3 separate regions of the Homo sapiens genome follow, and regions 1 and 2 are each linked to region 3. Evidence: promoter capture Hi-C in 16 types of primary human blood cells and fetal thymus (Javierre and others, 2016). All regions are on one chromosome and are shown on one strand. Each heading gives the region's core, a stretch centred on a gene start or on the middle of the fragment in contact. The rest is flanking DNA. Distances are from core to core; before and after follow the strand shown.

The links. Contacts are between HindIII fragments. The CHiCAGO score rates a contact against its expected background, and 5 or more counts as called.
Region 1: a fragment that was not itself captured here is called in contact with the fragment with the promoter of COA5 in region 3 in 1 of 17 cell types (megakaryocytes); the score reaches 5.1 in megakaryocytes.
Region 2: a contact is called between a fragment that was not itself captured here and the fragment with the promoter of COA5 in region 3, in 10 of 17 cell types (erythroblasts, non-activated CD4 T cells, M2 macrophages and 7 more). The highest score is 8.7, in erythroblasts.

The regions. Positions count from the first base shown.
Region 1 is chr2:99,081,993-99,084,692 of GRCh38, reverse strand. All of the region lies in intron 10 of TSGA10 (testis specific 10), which reads left to right. Among named protein-coding and RNA genes, the nearest start is that of C2orf15, 58 kb to the left of the region's middle. RefSeq lists an enhancer at 2,136-2,700. The HindIII fragment of the contact is 6,735 bases long and covers 1-2,700 here.
Region 2 is chr2:99,062,230-99,064,929 of GRCh38, reverse strand. The region is part of intron 16 of TSGA10 (testis specific 10); the gene reads left to right. Among named protein-coding and RNA genes, the nearest start is that of C2orf15, 78 kb to the left of the region's middle. The HindIII fragment of the contact is 7,108 bases long and covers 1-2,700 here.
Region 3 is chr2:98,607,076-98,609,775 of GRCh38, reverse strand. It overlaps COA5 (cytochrome c oxidase assembly factor 5), which reads left to right and starts at 1,264. Exons shown (of 3, transcript NM_001008215.3): 1 at 1,264-1,469. The coding sequence starts at 1,371. It overlaps UNC50 (unc-50 inner nuclear membrane RNA binding protein), which reads right to left and starts at 1,187. Exons shown (of 6, transcript NM_014044.7): 1 at 1,050-1,187; 2 at 1-20. The coding sequence starts at 16. RefSeq lists a silencer at 960-1,059 and an enhancer at 1,123-2,112. The HindIII fragment of the contact is 2,113 bases long and covers 492-2,604 here.

The DNA of each region.
Region 1 (2,700 bases), core at 195-2,694, 470 kb before region 3:
CCTTTTGCTACCCTAGATGAAGAGACATCAGGAGGCTCTATTAGTCTATTCTTGTGTTGCCATAAAGAAATACCTGAGTGTGGGTCATTTTAAAAGAAAGGAAATTTATTTTAGCTTATGGTTCTGCAGGCTGTACAGGAAGCATGGTGCTGGCATTTGCTTCTGGTGAGGGCACGAGACAGCTTGCCATCTTGGTGGAAAGCAAAGGGGGAGCCAGTGCATCACATGACAAGGGCAGGAGCAAGAGAAAAGGGGAGGTCCCAGATTTCTTTGAACAGCCAGATCTCATGTGAACTAACTAGCGAGATCTCACTTATCACCAAGGGGATAGTGTTAAACCATTCATGAGGGACCTGCCCCCGTGATCCAGTCATCTCTTCCCCAGGCCCCACTTCCAACATTGGAAATCACATTTCAACATGAGATTTGTAGCGGACAAACATCCAAACCATATCAGATGCATTCCTTAACAGCCTTGGCTGCATATTAGAATCAAATGAGGAGCTTTAAAAAACAATAGTGATGTTAATTCTCATTCCCAGAGATTTTAATTTAATTGGCATAATTGTGCAGCCTAACTCTAGGACTTTTTTTTGTTTTGCTGCTTTAAAATAATTTCATAATTTGTAGGAAGTTACAAAAATATACAGATAAGTCGATGTATTCCCGTCACCCACTTTCCCACAATGATTACATTTTATATCACTATAGTACAATATCAAAGCCAGAAAATTGACATTGGTACAATGTGTGTGCATAGTTCTGTCATTTTATCACATATGTAGTTTCATGTAACTACTACCACATTCAAGACACGGAAAGTCTATTACCGCAAAAATATCCCTCATGCTACTCCTTTACAGTCACATCTCCTCTTCCCCCACCATGATCCCTAATATCTGACACTAATCTGTTGTCCAACTCTGTAATTTTGTCATTTCAAGAATGTTATAGGAAGAGTCATACAGCCATGATTTTCAAGATTCGCTTGAAAACTCAGAATAATGCCATTGAGATCCAGCCAAGTATTAAATTTTGCTACTTTTTAATATTGCTGAGTAACATTCCATAGTATGAATGTACCATAATTTGTTCAGCTATTCACCTGGTGAGGGACATTTTGATTTTTTCCAGGTTTTGGCTGTTAAAAATAAGGTAGACCATATGCATTTAATATAATTATTGGTAGGGCTCAATTCTCCATGTTATTTTTTGGGGGTGTTTTTCGTTTGTTTCTTTCCTCTGTTTCTCATGTCTCTGTTTTTGTTTTCCTGCCTTTTCATGGATTACTTGACATTTTTTAGAATCCCATTTTTGATATCTGTAGTATTTTTGAGTGTCTATAGATTTTTCAGTGGTTGCTCTGTGAATTGTACTTACTTATCACGATCCACTGGTGTCACATTTTATCAGTTTGCATAAAGTATAGAAATCTTGTCTCCTTTTAAGTCCTTTTATCCTCCCCCATTTATAATTGTCTTAATAGATACAGGTTAATACCTCTTTAGTCTTGGATTTCATCTTTTATTAGGTATTATTTTGTTGAATATTGTCTTTATTCTTCCCTACTGGGATTTTGATTTGGTAAATATTGGACCTTCTTATTCTGTCTTTTATGTCTGTTAACCTCTATTTTGTATTTTTTCATTGTTTTATTTGTGCTCTAATATAGGACCTCTGATCTGTTTTTTTCCCCAGTTTACCAGTTATCTCTTTCACAGTGTCTATTCTGTATTTTTAACTTGTCCACTGAGTTTTGTAATCTTTAAAATTTTGATGTTAGTTTAATTTTGTGAAGTTCTATTTGGTTCTTTTCCAAATTTGTTGATTATTTTTTTCTTTATATATCCTATTATTTTATGTGTTTGTATTTAAACACATGTATTTCTAAGTTTCTATTTGATAGTGCTGTAGTCTGAAGTTCTTAGGGATCTAATTTAGTTTGTGTGTCTTTTGACTCCCACTAAGGTTGGATTGTTTCTTGATGTATTTTTAAATTTTGAATTATGAGATCCTTTTCCATAGGCCTTTGTCTGGGGTTAGTTCTGTGCTTGGGTTGAGAGCATGCCTCCAGAGTTTTGCAAGGGGTTCCTGATTATATGACCAATCGGGAACCAAATTTTATTTTGATGCTTAGATTGAGATTAAGACTCTTTGTTGTGTTATACCCAAGCGAGTTAGAGAAAACGCCACACTTTGAGACGAATTAAGAGTCCTTTATTAAGCCGGCGGCCAAAGAGACGGCTAACGCTCAAAATTCTCTCAGCCTCGAGGAAGGGGCTTGATTAACTTTATACCTTAGTTTAGGAAGGGGAGGGGAGCTCAAATGCAATAATTCTACAGAAGTAAAAACATGCAAGAATCAAAAAAACAAATGGTTACAGAGAGATTAACAATTTAAAAGGCAAATGGTTACAAAAAAAAGCAACGGAACCAGGTGCGGGGCTCTAAATCCTTTGTTAGATATGGATGCTATGCTGGACACAGACTCAAGGCTTTATGTTGTTATCTTTTTGAGCAAAATCCTGGGAACTTCACACATTGTTTGTTCCAGTACCTTATCAGTTAATTTGGCTCCTTTGAAATGCTGAGGGTCTGCTTACACAGGTTAACTCCTTGAGGAAGGGGGTCGGGTAAGGAGCCCTTAATGTCTTGTAAATCAAGGGGCCAAATGGAGTTTGTCCGGCTTTCCCAGCTAAG
Region 2 (2,700 bases), core at 195-2,694, 450 kb before region 3:
GAAAAATATGCTTATAATACATCCTGCATCATATTTAAAAGAGTTTTGTTTGGCCTTCCATAAATTAAATGTATGAACAAACACGTAAATTATTTAAATGTACTGTGAATTGTAGCATGCTAACCATTCTCCTTATACTTTGATTCTTCTACAATCTCTTATCTACCCTACATCCAGAACAATCATTAGCATTTGTTAAAATTAGAAACTATTTCAAACATACCATAAAAGTGCAAAAGTAACAAAACAGATAAACATATCCCCAGCTCCCACATGTAAGGATACTAACATTTTGCCATGTTTGCTTCAAATGTCTCCTTGTTTAAAGAAATAAAACATTACAGATAAAACTTCTCTCATCCTTTTCCCTCCTACCTCCCTAGTTGCTGGTGTGCATAACTTTCCTGTCAGTGTGTCTAACTCCTTTGCATATGTTTATACTTTTTCTACAATCTTACACCCACAAATAATGTATAATGTTATTTGGTATGTTTTGGTTTTTATTTAAGTGAAAACAAACATAGTTGGAGATATTCATTTGCAACTTGCCCTCTTTGCTCAATATTATAATTTTGACACATCTATTTTGATATATATATAGTGTACTGCTTTACTCAAACAGTTGCATATATTCATTGTATAAATATTCCCTTTTTAAAATTCATTCCCATATTGAAGGAAAGTTAATTTTTTTTCACTTTTTTCTGTGATAAAACACTGCAACAAACCTTTTACATTTCTCCTTGACTACATGTTTCCCTATATTTATGCCTGGAAGTGAATTTTAAAAAGCTATATGCCTGGAGTAGATCCAAGATATGTGCAATTTCAGCTCTTCTAAGTTTTTGTCAAATTGCTCTCTAAAGTGTCATTCTGCCATAAGAAATCCTGAGTTATTTTCTCAAATGTGAATCAATACTTGATATTGTCAGACAATTTTTTCCATACTTTTTGTCTTGTGCTTCCTTGATTGCAAGTGAAATTGAGGACCTTTTCATGTTTCTTTGCCATTTAGGATTCTTCCTCTATGAACATTTTCTTGAATTTCTCTTGAATGAAATTTTTGTAAACTTTGGCCATTTTTCTATTGCATAGCTTATCTTTTTCATATATATATATTTTTTTGAGATGGAGTCTCGCTCTGTCGCCAGGCTGGAGTGCAGTGGCGTGATCTTGGCTCACTGCAACCTCCGCTTTCCAGATTCAAGTGATTCTCCTGCCTCAACCTCCCAAGTAGCTGGGACTACAGGTGCGCACCACCCTGGCCAACTAGTTTTTTTTTTGTATTTAGTAGAGATGGGGTTTCACCATGTTGGCCAGGCTGTTCTCGATCTCTTGACCTCATGATCCACCCACCTTGCCCTCCCAAAGTGCTGGGATCACAGGCCTGAGCCACCACACCCTGCCTTCATATTGATTTTTAACGGAATTCTCTATGTATTCTTGATAATAATCCTCTTAAAGATATTACAATTATATTGTCCTTGTCTGTGGCTTGTCTTTTCACCTTCCTTGCAGTATAAACAGACATGTTCAGTTCTGATATACTCAGAATTATTATCAATATTTTCCTATATAGTTTATACTTTTATGTCTTCTTTAAGAAATCCTATACAATCCCAAGGCCAGAGAGATATTTTCCTATATTTTCATTTAAAAGTTCTTCTAAATGTTTGAAAGTATGTGAAATTTTGCCATTTACATTTAGGACTTTAACCTGCTTGAGATTGATTTTGTGCAGTTCGAAGTAGACATATAATTTTTATTTTTGTGAATAGATATCCGTTGTCCTTTCTTCTCTGAAATATAAGTCAAGTCTACTTTGTCATAAAAATAAGTTCCCATACATTCTGCTCCATTGGTCAATTTATCCCCTTGTCAATAACACACTCTTGTAGCTATTATAATTTTATGTTGAGTCTTGATATCTGGAAGAATTAATGTTCCCTCAAATTATCTGGACTGTACTTGGTCCTTATTAACCTGTCTCAGATGAATTTTAGAATAAATGTATCAGATTTCATGATTTTATTTCTTTTCTATGCATTGAAGACTGGAAATTTCTATTTTTTTGGGTGCAGCCACCTGCAGCCCACAAGTTTTGAGATAATCCTTTCATTGCCATTCAGTTTTTAATATCATCTCGTTTCATTATGATTTATTTTTAATTACTAAAGTTTGTTTGTCTGTTTGTTTGAGACAGAGTCTCACTCTGTTCCTAGGCTGGAGTGCAGTGGTACAATCATAGCTCACCGCAGCCTCCAATTCCTGGGCACAGGTGATCCATCTGTCTCAGCCTCCAAGTGGCTAACACTACAAGTGTGAGTCACCACACCCAGCTAATTTTTAATATTTTTGTAGCAATGGAGTCTTACTATATTGCCCAAGCTGGTCTTGATCTCCTGGCCTCAAGTGATCCTCCCACCTCAACCTCCCAAAGTGCTAGGATTAGAGGCATGAGCCACCACACTTGACCTGAAGTTTTAAAAAACTTTCCAATGTGCAGGGGACTTGAGGTTATTAGTCTATTTTTACTTTGTTGTGTCTAATATCTTATTGTCTAATGTTTCTAATATTGTGATCAGATAAAATGGCTTATGATAATTAATTCTTTGTTATCTGCTAAGAATTGCTTAGTGGCAGATTATGTAATCAATATTTGATAATATTCTACATGACCTTGAAAAGCATCTGTGCTCA
Region 3 (2,700 bases), core at 15-2,514:
AAGTACTCGGTAACATCTTCCTAGATGGAAGAAAAACATTTCTTTTACACGTATTCTGAAGAAACATTTGGCTACCGACACTCCTCTTCTGAGTTATTTGGCAGGGAGGTCACTTTCCATGTTCTTCCCAACCCTAGAGAAAGGCCAGGAGTCAAAAGCAAATGCAGTTAGTTCTGAGGCGGGTCTTGGGGCTTGGGAACCGCAGACTGCAACCTCAGGCAAGGGCAACAGCCCACCCTTCTGAATCACCTAATAACACTTATCCAGGGGCAGCTACCATTACAGAGACAGGGATGATGTGACTGCCCCATGACTCCGAGGATAGTGATAGAGCCAAGATTGGAAATCTGACTCGAAATTCCGTGCTCTTAACCACCAAGCTTTTAAGAAAATGCCTAAGAAAGCAGTTTCAGCCGGTTAGAACAGTGTTACTGAAGAGGTCAAATAAATGGCCTATTCACACAGATCCATCAGCGCACTGCCAGCAAGCTTCTCGGTCACTAGAATGAGATTAAAAAACCAAGAAAAACTCCGATCCCTAGTGTTTTACATCCGGAATAGTTCAGCAGAGGGAGCGGTAGCGTCGGAGTCCAATCCAACCGGTCCGAGCTCCGGGGAACGCCGGCCACTGCCCGGCTGCCCGTCTCCCCTCCACTTCGCAGGCCCCCCAGACGCCGGCAGGGTCTGGCCGAGCCCAGCTGCTCCCTCCCTGCCCGGGGCCGCGGGTACGGCTGCCAGATTTAGCAAATAAAAACACAGAATACCCAGCTCCATTTGGATTTCAGACAGGCCACGAATAAGGTTTTAGTATGCCTACATCCCACGCAACATTTCGGACATGCTTATACTAAATGCTCTTTCTTTATCTACGATGCAAATGTAACTGGGCGTCCTTTCATTTTAGCCGCAACTCTATCGCCGGCCGAGGGGCCGGACGCCGACATGGTCACTGCCAGGCCGCAGCGACGTCAGGCCGCAAGCTGTCGGGATTAAATGGCCCCCGGCGCGAGCCCGGGCCGCGGGAGGGCAGAGTGGTCCTCAGGCCTCACCTGGAGTCCTGCTACAGCCTCGACCCACGTCCGAACCAGCCCACCACCTCCTCCCAGCAGCCGACCCCAGCCGCCACCGGGCGGGCTTCCCTTCCCTCAACGGAGCCGGCCCTTGGGGCGCGCCGCGTCACGGGAACCGACTTCCGCCGCGGACGCGCCACCTCTCGGCCCCCGTAGTCCTCGGCCCTACCGCCGCGGCCCGCCGGAAGTTGTTGCCGCTGGCTTCCGGTCCCCTGAGACTGGGGCCTCGCTCGCTCCCGACCCGGTTGCAAGTGTTGCGGTGGGAGAAAGTCGCGTCCGCATCGGAGGGGAAGCGCCGTCATGCCTAAGTATTATGAGGACAAGCCGCAGGGCGGCGCGTGCGCGGGCCTGAAGGAGGACCTGGGCGCGTGTCTGCTGCAGTCGGACTGTGTGGTCCAGGTAGCGCGGCCGGGCGCTCCCGGTGGTGACGACCCCTGTCCCAGGCAGGCCTGGCTCGGCGGAGGGCAGCGGGTCGCCCGCGGCGGCGGTTGGAGTTAACCATCCCGGGCGTAGGTCACAGCTCGGGCTCACTGAACGTGCGCAGATCCACTGAGCTGTCGGAGCCCCAGTTCCCTGTGGGGTTAAATCGGAGATAACGATAAACGCACCCTGTCGGGTTTTTGTAAAGGTTAACCCATTTCAGTTCACGAAGCCTTTATTGAATGCTAGCACTCTACTAGGCTTTGGAGACATAAAGGAGAATAAGCCAGGTTTCTTGCCTGCCTAGAAATGATAATCTGTAGAATTAATGATTCCAGAGAGTTGCGTAAACCTGGTACACTGCCCTGGCCAGTAGTGTCTCCTGCCTGTTCAGTTGTGACAATGTGTGCTCAGTTTGACTTGTGTTGATGTGAATTTGTTTCTGAGTTACAGTTCTCTGCATTCTTGGATGTTAAGTTGTAAAAATAAGGCAACTCCATATTTTCACGATTTCGTATCTTGCTTCCCCTACACTCTTCCTTCACTCCCCGGCTACAGACACAGGTCTCCTCAGCACCCTCTTGGAATGCACTGAAACATGTAGTGAGGTTCACAGTGGACCTGAGTTCTGGATTAGAGCTCAAGTAAAGCACAAGTGCCTTTTCCAATTGCAGAGGCCCGACGAGAGGGCATTCAATTGTGTGCAATTGTCTTTGCATTGGGGGATGTAGTTTCAGAAAGTTGCTGTTATTTCAGAGAAAAGATTACCCCCAAATGGACATCCACTGTAAGACTGTACCAGTGTTTCTACCGAGTCACAATTTGTTTGGTTCACTGATTTTAGCAGTCAGCCATTCTCGCCTCCCAATGTCTAGTAAAACTTGAGTTATTATAAATTTAAGAGATTATCTCGCCCAACTTCCTTATATAAATGAGGAAACTGAAGTACCGTTGTTTTCAGGCTCCCCTGTCCAGGGCTGTGTCCCTTCTGCCCCTTACTCACTGGTGCTGCCGTTCAGCCAGCTCCTGGTAAATGCCTCTTAAGTGGCAGGCATGGTACCTGACACTGGTGATAACGAAGATGAATCAGTAACAGTCACTACCCATGTAAGCTTGGTGTCATGGGAGAAATAGACATCTAAGGGTCTAAATTCCTGCCATAAGACTGTAAGCATTTATTAAACATGTGTTTAATGACTAGATCTTGAGG